Regions from separate parts of the Homo sapiens genome. Here regions 1, 2, 3 and 5 are each linked to region 4. The links are contacts of gene promoters, found by promoter capture Hi-C in blood cells and fetal thymus (Javierre and others, 2016). All regions are on one chromosome and are shown on one strand. The core of a region is centred on a gene start or on the middle of the fragment in contact, and the rest is flanking DNA. Distances in the headings are between cores, read along the strand shown.

Region 1 (2,700 bases), core at 58-2,557, 86 kb after region 4:
GCACCTGGGGGCCCCTGCACACGCCTGCCAGGACCCACGCAAGGACACTCCCTGGAGAAGGGCATCACCAGCCACCGGGACCAACCCAAACGGCCAACAGGCAACAGCGGCCACCACAGACCCGCCCGACAGAGGGGCTCCCGACACACTGGCACGGGCCTAGCCTTCCTTTTCTTTCTAGAAGGAGAAGAGAAACCGCTGGTGGTTCCTGGGGAGGAGAAGCAGCAGGAGACAGAGGCCCCCGTTTCTCTGAGCTTTGGCGCTGCCTCCTCGTGGGCATGGAGGGTGCCCAGGGCGGGCCTGCAGAACCCGCGCCTTCCTGACACTCTTCTACGAGAACCGACAGGCCTGAGGCACAGAGTCCCCCTGGCAGCCGCCGCTCTATACACCGCAAGGCTCCAGGGGAACCACGAATGACCCGTGGCCAACCCCAGGAGCCAGGCCCTCCGAAGGCTGTCGTATGAGTGATGGATGATGCACTCATCGCCTGGAGAGGGACCGTGCCCCGTGGCTCGTCACGGGCGAACGGCAAGAGCAGTGAGTGTGCCTGGGTCACTGTCAGGTCCTGAGTTTCGGCTGCCCTGGCTGGTCACCGGCAGAGTGGGCCTACGTGGCCAGCCCCCCAATGAAGTCTGGGAACCCAGAGGCTCAAAGGGGCTCCCCTCAGCAGAGACACAGCACCGACCCCTGCAGTTTCCTGCTCGAGAGCACGTATGCGCCTGCACGCCGGTGTGGCCCTGGTCGGGGGATCAAAGCCTCCAGCTGCCCGGACGCTCTTCCTGCCTCGTCTGCTGCGTTCTTTGCCGTAATAAACTTTACCCATGAGTCTAACCTGATACGGGGTCTCCGAGTCCTTCTGGGGAATCGCCACACAGAACACATCACAAACTGATTTGAAACCACAAAGACACCCGCTCCGCACGCGCGCCACCACACACCCTGCCATGCACCTGGCCTGGCTGCTGCTCACCTGTCGGGGGCCTTGCTCTGCGGCCTGCCCTTCTGGCGGCTGCTGTCCAGGATGTGGTCGATAGCCGCGAGGGGACAGCTGGCCTGGGACAGGCCGTCCGAGATGCCTGAATAGGTGATTTCTTCATAAAGAGGGGCCGAGGGGATGGCCGGGGAGACAGCCCGGAGGCCGTTGAGCGCCTCGAGCAGCGAGATGGGCTCGTAGCCAGGTGGGACGCTGTCAGAGTTCTGTAGGGACAGGGTGCGTGAGGGGGCTCATGCCCAGGGACCACCTGCTCCCCAGACGCTCCTCCTGATGACCTCCTGTCCACTCTGTTCTTTGGGGGATTGAGACTCCCCCACCCTCAGAGGGTGGCCAAGAGCTCCCTGGCAGCACCGATGCCCTCCCTGCCTCAGCCATCAGCTCCAGCACGGGGCTGGATGCCCAAATGCCCACGCTGGTGCCTGGGATGACGGGCACGAGGGCATCTGCCAAGAACCGCCCCAGCCCTGGCCTCAACCAGCCCCTCCCTGGCTTTCAGTCCCGCCTGGCCCCAGGTGGAGAGTGAAGGGTTAGTGACAGACAGGAGCTGGGAGCGGGGGCAGAGCAAAGCCATGCCAGAGGCGAGAGACACGGTCAGGGGCGTCCTGGACCAGGGAGAGCTGAGCTGTTGGGAGCTGTGCCCTGCCCGGGCCTCTGGGGGCTGACCTGCTCCAGGTGGTTCTAACGGGCACCCTGGCTAAGAGCCACTGTTCTTCCCTCACTGGGAGCAGACAGAATCAACAAGGCTGAGGAAGAAGGAAAATGCCCAGGTTCTGGGGAACGGAAGTCAGACTGCGGGGGCCCCTGCTCTGTCCCCACAAAACCAGGTTGAGGGGCACAACGCTCGTCAGTGCTCCTTTCGGGAGACCCCGGCCTGCCTGACCGAGCTCCTGGAAGGAAGGGGAAAGTGAGATGGGTGCGGGATGCCTGGAGACCACGGGGAGGTGGGGGAGAAATGGGGGAGCGGGCACGGCCCGGGCAATGAGCCCGGGATGCTTTTCTGGACCTCTGTGTACCCCACATTTGCTCCCATACCTGCCTCCAAGTTAAGGGTAAATAACCACACAGAATCCCCTCACCCCTCTAGAAAGGAAAACACGGTCCGGGTGGCTCCGGAGTGGCCTCCACCTTCTACACCAACGCACACAGGGTTTCGGCTGGGTCTGCCTGGGCCACGGAGGCTCCAGGTGGTTGTGTGCTGGTCCCCCTGCCTGCTCCCTGGGGCACAAGGGAAGCCCAAGGAAACCAAAAAGCTCAGCCCAAGGAGCTCGAACCCGCAGGGTAAAGGAGCGGGACACGGGGCCAAGAAGCATGCGCGGGGCGCGATTGCAAAACGCAGCAGCGACGTTAGTTCCGCCTGCAACGTCCATTCCACTGCCAGCAAGAAAAAAAAGGGAAACGGCACGGGGGCCACGCGGGGCGGAGGCAAAGCTGAGGGGAGGGCGGCGGGGCCAGCGCACCTGGCGTTTCGCCCACGGACCGAGAGCTTTTCCGGTTCCACAAACTCCCTGGGCAGGGAGGCCGGGACTGGGCAAGTGGAGCTGACGGGTTATATGAATCAGACACTAGCCTGGGGCGGAAACGATCTCCCCTACTTGTCGTGGGTTTAAAAATGAGGGCGGGGGCAAAAAAACGTAGCCGGAGGACCAGACACTTACTGTTTCCCTTTTAGGTTTCTTGCTGGCCAGGGAGGCGGGGTGCGGCTTTGA
Region 2 (2,700 bases), core at 38-2,537, 120 kb after region 4:
TACAAAATTACCCAGGCGTGGTGGTGTGTGCCTGTAATCCCAGCTACTTGGGAGGCTGAGGCAGGAAAATCGCTTGAACCTGGGAGGCAGAGGTTGCCGTGAGCTGAGATTGGGCCAGCTGTCCACTCCAGCCTGGACAACAAGAGTGAAACTCCATCAAAAAAAAAAAAAAAAAAAAACTGGTAATTGAGGGGTCCAAGCACGGTGGCTAACACCTGTAAACCCAGCACTTTGGGAGGCTGAGGGGGGTGGATCACTTGAGGTAAGGAGTTCTAGACCAGCCTGGCCAACATGGTAAAACCCCATCTCTACTAAAAATACAAAACAAAACAAAAAAAAATTAGCCGGGAGTGGTAGTACATGCCTGTAATCCCAACTACTCAGGAGGCCAAGACAGCAGAATTGCTTGCATCTGGGAGGCAGAGGTTGCAGGGAGCCGAGATTGCACCACCTCACTCCACTCCAGCCTGGGCAACAGAGCGAGACTCCATCTCAAAAAAAACAAACAAACAAAAAAAACTAGCATTGAGGCTGAAATCATTTTAGCAACAGCTTGTATCCAACTGTGAATGCATGAATTAACCAGGAGAAAAAGGAACCCATCTACTCAAGAGACATATTTCCAATGTTTTTTCGTATTTCTTCTTGTTATTGATAAAAACTGGAATATTTGTTTGATCAATTGGGTATTAGTAATGGCCATTCAAAACACGAAAAACTCACAGCTTATGATGTAAAATTATTTAAAATTCTAATTTCAATTGGTGCGCATATTTTGGTTGCAGACACACAATATGATCAATACAAGATTTTTGCCAGGCGCGGTGACTCACGCGTGTAATCCCAGCACTTTGGGAGGCCAAGGCAGGTGGATCACGAGGTCAGGAGATGGAGACCATCCTGGCTAACACGGTGAAACCCCGTCTCTACTAAAAAATACAAAAAATTAGCCAGGTGTGGTGGCACGCGCCTGTAGTCCCAGGTACTTGGGAGGGGCTGAGGCAGGAGAATTCCTTGAACCCAGGAAGCGGAGGTTGCAGTGAGGGAGACTCTGTCTCAGAAAAAAAAAAAAAAAAAAAAATCAAGCAAGGCCGGGTACAGTAGCTCACGCCTGTAATCCTACCACTTTGGGAGGCCAAGGTGGGAGGTTCACTTGAGCCCAGCAGTTCGAGACCTGCCTGGACAACATGGCAAAACCCCATCTCTGCCAAAAATACAAAAATTAGTCCAGGCTCAGTGGCTCGTGCCTATAATCCCAGTGCTCTGGGAGGCCGAGAGGAGTGGATCACAAGGTCAGGAGATCGAGATTGAGACCAGCCTGGCCAACATGGCGAAATCCCATCTCTACTAAAAATACAAAAATTAGCCAGGCATGGTGGTGTGTGCCTATAGTCCCAGCTACTTAGGAGGCTGAGGCACGAGAATCGCTTGAACTTGGGAGGCAGAGGCTGCAGTGAGCTGAGATTGTGCCACTTCACTCTAGCCTGGGTGACAGAGTGGGACTGTCTCAAAACAAAACAAAACAAAAAAAATTAGCTAGCACGGTGATGCGTACTTGCAGTCCAAGGTACTCGGGAGGCTGAGGTGGAAGGATCACTTGAGCCTGGGAGGTCAAGGCTGCAGTGAACCCTGATCAAGCCACTGCATTATAGCCTAGGCAACAGAGCCAGACCCTTTAACAAAAAAAAAAAAAAAATTCAAGCGTTAAAAATTATAACCCACCAGGCACGGTGCTCACCCCTGTAATCCCAGCACTTTGGGAGGCCAGGGCAGGCAAATCACTTGAGGTCTGCCGTCAGGAGTTGAAGACCAGCCTGGCCAACATGGGAAAGTCTGTTTCTACTAAAAATACAAAAATTAGGGCCGGGTGCGGTGGCTCACGCCTGTAATCCCAGCACTTTGGGAGGCCGAGGCGGGCGGATCACAAGGTCAGGAGTTTAAGACCAGTCTGGCAACAAGGTGAAACCCCCATCTCTACTAAAAACACACACACACACACACACACACACACACACACAAATTAGCTGGCCGTGGTGGTGCATGCCTGTAATCCCAGCTACTCAGAAGGCTGAGGCAGGAGAATCGCTTGAACTCAGGAGACGAAGGTTACCGTGAGCGGAGATCACACCATTGAACTCCAGCCTGGGTGACAGAAGACGACTCCGTTTCAAAAATAAATAAATAAATAAAAATACAAAAATTAGCTCATGCCTGTAATCCCCACTACTCGGGAGGCTGAGACAGGAGAATCTCTCGAACCCAAGAGGCAGAGGTTGCAGCGAGCTGAAATCGCGCCACTGCACTCCAGCCTGGGCGAAAGAGCAAGACGGTCTTTTTTAAAAAAAAAAAAAAAAAAGGAACCAAGTCATATGCTGACAGGGAAATGCATGACAGTGCAGGGTTACCGGATGGACCCTCAGCACTCAAGAACAGGGTCTACGTGATCAACACGGCGCAGACAATCAACAACTCACACCTGCAGGAGACGAGACCAACTGGGAAGAACTGGAAACACCTCACAGAGAATCCAGGCCAGCCGAGGGGGCTCACGCCTATAATCCCAGCACTTTAGGAGGCCAAGGTGGGCAAGATGGCTTGAAGCCACGAATTTCAGACCAGCCTGGGCGACATGGCGAGACCCTGTCTCTACAAAAAATACAAAAAGTGGCCAGGCGCAGTGGCTCACATCTGTAATCCCAG
Region 3 (2,700 bases), core at 72-2,571, 67 kb before region 4:
TTTTGAGGTGGAGTCTCACTCTGTTGCCCAGGCTGGAGTGCAGTGGCACAATACTGGCTCACTGCAACCTCCGCCTCCTGGGTTCAAGTGTTTCTCCTGTCTCAGCCTTCCGAGTAGCTGGGATTACAGCTGCGTGCCACTACACCCAGCTAATTTTTATATTTTCAGTAGAGACGAGATTTCACCATGTTGGCCAGGCTGGTCTCAAACTCCTAACCTCAGGTGATCTGCCTGCCTCGGCCTCCCAAAGTGCTAGGATTACAGGTGTGAGCCACCGTGCCCAGCCAAGCTGGTTTTTTATGGCTGTTTTTTGATGTAACAGGATGCTTCTCCAGCAATAAGTTGATTCCTTAAATAGATTAACATTTCTTGGATTTACCATCCTATTCATACTGTCAGTTCATTTAGCCATTTTAATGTTTCGAAGATGGTTGTAAAGAGGAAAATTTTAGTATCTCAAATGCTTTAAAGTGAGTGGAATTTTGACTGTACAGTTCCTTCTAGCAGAAATCAGTAAACCTTGTAAGATGCTTCAACAAAAAATGGGGTTGATTCCTTGGCACTTCACAGACATCCTCACCTTTCTGTTCCCTCAGAATCGGGTTCCTGTGAGGCTGGGTAGTGGGAGGCAGGGATGGAGGTAGCAGGATGGCGTGGGTGGGATTAGCAAGTCTCGGAGTCTGTTGTCCCATCTCAAGGGGTTCCATAAAAATCACCTTTTTGGTCCTATATTGGGAACTTGTGTGGTTCTCAGCTTCTGACCAGAAGCTCCTAGGAAGAACTGGCTGGTCACGACTCCTTAAGCTTCATCCTTGATACTGGTTGTGTCATCTCAGACCCACGGGTTAGTATGGTAGCTTCACTGGCTTTTGGGGCTGGGTCTGACTTTGCATCTGATTGCTCTGGCCTGTCATTAGCATCCCTGTAAGGAGAGGGAACGGAGTCAGTTCAGGGATATTCTTGCCAGAAAATCTGGGGTCGAAATCTCCTTCCACTTTTCCTCCCAGCAGATTGGACTCATTGGCGCTCTCATGTTGAATTTCAAACTTTAAGATGAGTTGGTCACTGGAAAGGAGTTTGCTGGCTCACACCTGTAATCCCAGCACTTTGGGAGGCCAAGGCAGGTGGATCACTGGAGGCCAGAAGTTCAAGACCAGCCTGGCCAACACAGGGAAACCCCGTCTCTACTAGAAACATAAAAATTAGCTGGGTGTGGTGGTGCATACCTGTAGTCCCAGCAACTCGGGAGATAGAGGCAGAATTGCTTGAACCTGGGAGGTGGAGGCGGAGGTCGCAGTTAGCTAAGATCGTGCCACTGCACTTCATCCTAGGTGACAAAATGAGACTCTGTCTCAAAAAGGAAAAAAAAAAGGCCAGGTGTGGTGGCTCACGCCTGTAATCCCAGCACTTGGGAGGCTGAGGCAGGAGAATCACTTGAACCTAGGAGGCGAGGTTGCCGTGAGCCAACATCGCCCCATTGCACTCCAGCCTGGGCAACAAGAGTGAAACTCCGTCTCAAAAAAAAAAAAAAAAAAAAAAGGAATTTGCCTAACTCCTCTAGTTGGAGCTGTGCCAGGGAGACCAGCTTCTGTATCTCCATTCATCATCTCACTTAGCCATGGTGGCATGCCTGATAGTGGTTCGCTGCCTGACATCTGCAGGCCGATGATCCCAGGTCTGTGTTTTTGCACAGACCCCATTATCACAACTACCAGCAGCACACTCAAAGTCCAGGTAGCTGGTGGAGGGTTAGTAACATTATTTTTATGTGCAAAGGTTAACACTTGCTGTTAGTGAATATTCTCTAGCTTTCTATGAAGAAAACAACCTGAAGCTTGTGAGATAGCTGGGTTTCTGTATCCTTAACCTGACCTACTTTTTCTGAAGGTTATGCTGTGAAACCTGTATCACAGGCTAAAACATGTAAACTAACTGATACCTTGTAAAGCCTATAAAATTATTTTGTGCTTGGATTCTATAAGCTGCATGCCATTCAGGGAAGCCATAGAAAGCCAGCTGCAGCAGATTTGTTCAGGTTAGTGTGACAGATCAGAAACCCCAGAATTGACAGCTGACTACTTTCACTTTCATGTGTTACACATTGATGGTTGAAATTAAAAATTACATATCGGAGGTGTATGTTCTTCTACCTTTAATCTCAAGCATCTTGTTTCTATTTTTTTTTTTTTTTGAGACATCATAAAACAGCATGCCATCTTGTTTTTAAATGCCTCCTTTTGTAACTGCTGCCCTTATTCCAAACCATGTGTTCCGTGTTTTGTGTGGTTTAGTAGCCATGGTTACCATCATTTATGAACAAATATAGGCTCAGTGGCTGTGAATATCCATAGGAACCACAAATTTTAGAAGATGTTGCATTTCTTCAGCTCTGTAACATCCCTGACTCTCTGTGGATCAACAGATCATAAATCTGGTTCCCATTGTTGACAGGCAGCAGGCATTTTCCTGCATAGTAATGCTGCTATCATCTATCACATTTCCAGGTACCCTGATTCCCAGGGATCTGTGTGTGGCCATTTGTGCTGCCTGGTGAGAATGGGAAAGGGTCTCCAGATTTCTTTCTGCCCTGAGCAAGTGGCAGCGTATATGTGGTTGGGCATTGGAGGCTGATAGACGATTGTGGAAATAAATAATCTGCAACACAGTGCTTTCACTGGAGGAACTTGATTTGTGGTTGCT
Region 4 (2,700 bases), core at 201-2,700:
AACCAAAGAGGAAAAGCAGCGAGAATCCAGCATAGGAGACGGGCCTTAGGATGCCCAAGTTAGGATTAGGGGCAAACTACGTTAACCTGGTAGTTAGGAGCTGAAGTTCTGGAATCAAAGATTTGGGTTCCAATCCCATTTCTGTACTTCCTGTTTGACCTTCTCTGGGGGGTTCAATACTTAAAACTCTCAGAGCTTCAGGGTTTTGTTTTGTTTTGTTGAACCGGTAGGTCTAGTTATAGTACCTCTATTACTAAATGAGGAAGAAACGAAGTACAAATGTGTTTTGCTTGCTTGATGCTCAAGAATTGATGCGACCGGGAGCGGTGGCTTACTCCTGTAATCTCAGCACTTTGGGAGGCTGACGTGGGTGGATTGCTTGAGGCCGTTGGAGACCAGCCTGGGCAACATGGGGAAACCCCATCTCTACTAAAAATACAAAAATTAGCCGGACCTGGTGGTTCGTGCCTGTAATCCCAACTATTCGGGAGGTTAGGTAGGAGAATTGCTTAAAACCGGGCGGCGGAGGTTGCTGTGAGCCAAGGTCGAGCCACTGCACTCTAGCCTGGGCGACAGAGTGAGACCCTGTCTCTAAATAAATAAATACATACATACAAGAATTGATACCTGGCTGGGCACACCTGTAATCCTGACACTTTGGGAAGCTGAGGCGGGAAGATTGCTTGGGCCCAGGAGTTTGAGACCAGCCTAGGCACCATGGTGGGACTTCATCTCTAACAACAACAACAAAGATTGATGCCCATTATTATGTTGTCAGAAAGAAGCAGGCAGGACAAGGGATATTTGGGGTTGGACGTTGTTGGGGGCCCTCTTGGGGGAGGGTGGGCGCAAGCACTTGGCATCTCTTCCAGTTTTATCTTGAACAACTTCTGCCTTTATTTATTTTATTTATTTATTATTTATTTATTTATTTTTTGAGATGGAGTTTCGCTCTTGTTGCCCAGGCTGGAGGACAATGGCAGGATGTCGGCTCACTGCAACCTGCGCCTTAGCCTCCTGAGTAGCTAGGATTACAGGCATGAACCACCACGCCCAGGTTTCTCCACGTTAGTCAGGCTGGTCTCGAACTCCCGACCTCAGGTGATCCGCCCGCGTCGGCCTCCCAAAGTGCTAGGATTACAGGTGTGAGCCACCGTGCCCGGACGACTTTGCTGGCTTTAAAGATGGAGGAGGCGGCCAGAGGAGAGCGGAGCGGGTGTGGAACAGTGACTGGGAAAGTAGCCCAGAGGCTGCAGAGTCGCCGCACGCTCGCGCGGTCACCGAGGTGCTGGACTACGTTACCCACAATGCGTGCCTTTGAGGACCACATTAACCACAGTGCACGTCGCGGACCCGCCCACTCGGCCGTGTTGCCACGCCCCCAACGGCCGGCTTAGCCAATGGTGCCACGGCTACGTTACCCACAATGCCGCCTGCGGGCCCACCCGCACGGCCTGGTTTGCACCCCTGGTTTAGGGTCTTCGGCCCCGGCTCTGGCGTCCCTGGCTGCCAAGCCTGAGGCCCGCAGTCCTACTCCCGCCGAGACCCGCCGCTCCGGTCCTGCCCCGAACTGCCCACGGCCGGCAGCGCTTCCAGTGAGTGCGGGGGGCGCGGGGACGCGGGTCCCGGCCGAAGCTTCGATTTCGCGGCCCGCGCCAGCACCCGGGTCTGTGCCGCGGCCTCGGGTACCGCTCACCCTCCACCTGAGGGATGAGACGGGAAAGCAGCCCGGCCTGGGGGTCCCAGCTCTCCCAGGACCCTGGAATTGGGGGGCTGTCGTGACCACCCACGCGGGGGTGCCTGACGGGGCCGCGTAGGGGCTTCAGGGTTCGCCAGACCTGGACACCGGGGATCAAGTTGAGGCAGAGTCTGCAGAAAGGCCCTACTTTTCATCAGATTTCCAAAGGAACCCCTTCCATATAGGACCCACTCTAATCATGGAAAATAACGATTCTCGAGCTCTGACCGCAAACATCCCTTTTAGATTGTTTTTGTTTGAGTCTCTCTCTGTCGCCCAGGCTGGAGTGCAGTGGCGCTATCTCAGTTCACTGCAACCTCCATCTCCCGGGTTCAAGCGATTCTCCTGTCTCAGCCTCCCGAGTTGCTGGGATTACAGATGTGCTACCACCATGTCGGGCTAATTTTTGTATTTTTTGTAGAGACAGGGTTCCACCACGTTGACCAGGTGGTCAACTCCTGAACTCACGTGATCTGCCCTCCTCTGCCTCCCAAAGTGCGGGGATTACAGGCGTCAGCTACTGCCCCCAGCCATCCCTTTTAGTTCTGTCAGCAACCTGTGTGTGTAGGTCCTGTTATCATCTCTGTTTGCCCAGTGAGGAAGCAAAGCCCAGAGCCCTTCAGTAAATTACCCGGGAATTAACAGGGGGTTAATAACAAAGATGACATTCATCCACTTCCTTTTCCTTTTCCATGGTGGGGTGAGCTGGCCTTGGAACCAGGGCAGGGGCTTCCCAGGCCAAAGGGCTTATCCAGCCCCAGGGCTGCCCTTCAGATGGTTTTATCGTCTCTCCACAGGGCCCTGAAAAAAACTCTCTTCCTGTGTCTGGCCAGAGGTATAGAGAGAGACAGGTTCAACTCTAAGGCCTGAAAAGGAACAAGGCCCACCGGAAGCAATGGCCACTGTCCCTGGCCTCCAGCCCCTGCCAACCTTGGAGCAGGACCTGGAACAGGAAGAGATCC
Region 5 (2,700 bases), core at 9-2,508, 110 kb before region 4:
CACCCCTGGTGAGTATCTGGTTGGCCAGGGCTGGGTTTACCCCGGCATGCTTCGTTGCTAAGTACAAACAAGCCGCCAGGAGAAACTTTCTTCTGTTTTGAAAAGCGTTAAGACTCTCGTGAAGAGATACTCTGCCTACTGGCATTCCCACTGTCTCAGCGCACTCCTAGCTGCAATCAGACCAAGGCATGGCATGAGAATTGCCTTAAAGCAGCTATTTTTCCCTTCTTGATTTTTCCCAGCACCCATCTCCTCAGACTGGGTTCAAAGAAGAGTGAGCTTTTCATGGGAACAGGAATGGGGTCTAATCCTTCACTCCTGCATCCCTGGTGCTTAATACAGTGTGTCTGGGACATTGTGGGAGCTCAACAGATACTTAGGAGTAAATGATTTGCACATCTCATTCTCACGGTCTGCTTAGGGATGGCTAAGGGCACCACACTAAGAACTGGGAAAAATGTTGATAAACAGCAATTTTTACTACATTGAGAGGTTTCTGCAACATCTAAGGTAATTTTCACAGTGTCTATTCTCCAGCCACTATATTGCCCTCCATTTCTGCCTGGTAGCTCAGTAAAGTCGCCTTTTCTTTCTGCTGTGGCTCCAAGCTAAACTGCACTTGGCTAGAGTGTATTTCTTCCATACAAAGATCACAGTGTAACACGTTCACACCTTCAGGGACTACTGACTCCTCAGAGGGCTGCCAAGAAGATCCCACTTAATCCCACATGAACCCCAGGAACTGGGCCAGCTGGGTACTGTTTGTAGAACCAAGGCTAGAGGGGGGTTAAGTGGCTTGGGTCTCTGTCCTGTTATGACTTCAAGAATGTCATCCTGAGCAGCTGTCCCCAGACGAGCAAAGATCAATGAGCTTCCACAGTCACTTGACTGTTTCCAGAGCATAGTTGTAGGGAGATGGGCATAGCTGACATGTGACCCGAGCAAACTGACTCACCTTCACCTTGATTTTAGAAGGGGCCATAACTTTCTTCTTGGCCCTGTTCAAAGGAATGAGCACAGAAAAGTTTAGAGAATATCCAGAGGAGACCAAAAACAACACTTGTCCCGAGATGTGAAAATACCAAGACACTCACAGGATTGAAGTCAGGTGCCCATGGCCTCGTCTGCTCTCCTTAAACAGAGTTCTGAAAGACACAGAACACCAGGCATCTGTACATGCCCCAGAAAGCTGGGACTCTGCTTCCAGAACTTTGCTAGTGTCCCTGGTCCTCAGTAGCTATCCCTCATTAAATGTCAACTGGCCAGGCGCAGTGGCTCACGCCTGTAATCCCAGCACTTTTGGAGGCCAAGGCAGGTGGATCACCTGAGGTCAGGAGTTCGAGACCAGCCTGGCCAACATGGTGAAACCCCGTCTCTACTAAAAATACTAAAATTAGCCAGGCGTGGTGGCGCACGCCTGTAATCCCAGCTACTCGGGAGGCTGAGGCAGGAGATTCGCTCAAACCGGGGAGGCGGAGGTTGCAGTGAGCCGAGATCGTGCCATTGCACTCCAGTCTGGGCAACAGAGTGAGACTTTGTCCCCGCCCCCCCACCATGCCCACCCACCCCCCACACACACAAAAAAAAAGGTCAATGGATTGGGGAGCCAAATTCCTGGTGAGAGGATCTCAATGGGACACACTGGCTGCCCAAAGGCTGAGTCTGGCCTTTACCAAGAAAATGTATGGCTCTGCCTCAAACCTCTCATGGTGATGCTTCCCTAAAGGGCACAGCACTTTCCTTATTGCCTAGTCCCTCCATTCCAGGAATAAAATGTGGAGTGACCCAGCATGTCTTTGTCCAGAGAAACTCAACAAAAACGTTCTTCGTATGAGTCCAGCCTACGTAGAGAGGACAGCAATTTCAAAGGTTCCAAGATCTATCCGCACAACAGATGATTCGAGTCCAATCAAGAAAATCACTCCAGCTAACTTTCTCTGTCCCATGTATGACACAAATACTTCATTCGCAGGAAGTGACTTCGTACAAGGTAGCCTCTGAGATGGAAGCCTGGCACTTAGTTCCAATAAGGAGTCAGCCCTGCTACCTGCAAATGACACTTCTTCAGGAACATCAGGAAAGACCCAAGATGAACCCATCTCTCAAATGCTCATAGCAGCCTGTATGTTAAAACAGGAAGTGTGGCCGGGTGTGGTGGCTCACGCCTGTAATCCCAGCACTTAGGGAGGCCAAGGTGGGCAGATCACAAGGTCAGGAGATTGAGACCATCCTGGCTAACACGGTGAAACCCCATTTCTACTAAAAATACAAAAAATTAGCCGGGCATGGTGGCAGGCACCTGTAGTCCCAGCTACTCGGGAGGTTGAGGCAGGAGAACGGCGTGAACCTGGGAGGTGGAGCTTGCAGTGAGCTGAGATCATACCACTGCACTCCAGCCCAGGCAACAGAGCGAGACTCCATCTCAAAAAAAAAAAAAAAAAAAAAAAAAAAAGGAAAGTGCATATTGAGATGGGAGGCCAAACATCAACTGAAGTGGGACAAAAAATGACAAAAACAAAACCCTGGAGGCAACTTCCCTTCCTCCAGGGAAGATCCAGAAGACCCTTTCCCAGCTACCTGCATGTCCCCCAGTTACTCAGGTGAGATCAGAGTTGAGGCAGCTAGACAGTGACTCCCTGTGAGCAAGGATCCTGTTGGCCTGGCACAAAAGCAGCGTTCAAACGTGTCTTGACTGCACAG

Evidence for each region. The method cuts DNA at HindIII sites, captures the fragments that hold promoters and counts their contacts. A CHiCAGO score of 5 or more calls a contact.
Region 1: a contact is called between a fragment that was not itself captured here and the fragment with the promoter of ZNF500 in region 4, in 1 of 17 cell types (neutrophils). The highest score is 5.3, in neutrophils.
Region 2: a contact is called between a fragment that was not itself captured here and the fragment with the promoter of ZNF500 in region 4, in 2 of 17 cell types (erythroblasts and neutrophils). The highest score is 5.2, in erythroblasts.
Region 3: a fragment that was not itself captured here is called in contact with the fragment with the promoter of ZNF500 in region 4 in 7 of 17 cell types (erythroblasts, megakaryocytes, monocytes and 4 more); the score reaches 12.8 in erythroblasts.
Region 5: a fragment that was not itself captured here is called in contact with the fragment with the promoter of ZNF500 in region 4 in 1 of 17 cell types (erythroblasts); the score reaches 5.6 in erythroblasts.

The regions. Positions count from the first base shown.
Region 1 is chr16:4,680,047-4,682,746 of GRCh38, reverse strand. MGRN1 (mahogunin ring finger 1) reads right to left here. Exons shown (of 17, transcript NM_015246.4): 12 at 2,650-2,700; 13 at 971-1,197. Among named protein-coding and RNA genes, the nearest start is that of MIR6769A, 10 kb to the right of the region's middle. The HindIII fragment of the contact is 3,050 bases long and covers 1-2,700 here.
Region 2 is chr16:4,641,785-4,644,484 of GRCh38, reverse strand. The region is part of intron 1 of MGRN1 (mahogunin ring finger 1); the gene reads right to left. Among named protein-coding and RNA genes, the nearest start is that of MGRN1, 18 kb to the right of the region's middle. The HindIII fragment of the contact is 4,575 bases long and covers 1-2,700 here.
Region 3 is chr16:4,833,135-4,835,834 of GRCh38, reverse strand. All of the region lies in intron 3 of GLYR1 (glyoxylate reductase 1 homolog), which reads left to right. Among named protein-coding and RNA genes, the nearest start is that of GLYR1, 13 kb to the left of the region's middle. The HindIII fragment of the contact is 1,030 bases long and covers 807-1,836 here.
Region 4 is chr16:4,765,912-4,768,611 of GRCh38, reverse strand. ZNF500 (zinc finger protein 500) reads left to right here and starts at 1,450. Exons shown (of 6, transcript NM_021646.4): 1 at 1,450-1,595; 2 at 2,536-2,700. The coding sequence starts at 2,634. RefSeq lists an enhancer at 132-211 and a silencer at 1,404-1,703. The HindIII fragment of the contact is 2,671 bases long and covers 1-1,637 here.
Region 5 is chr16:4,871,329-4,874,028 of GRCh38, reverse strand. UBN1 (ubinuclein 1) reads right to left here. Exons shown (of 18, transcript NM_001079514.3): 13 at 1,095-1,145; 14 at 956-998. Among named protein-coding and RNA genes, the nearest start is that of UBN1, 25 kb to the right of the region's middle. The HindIII fragment of the contact is 5,729 bases long and covers 1-2,700 here.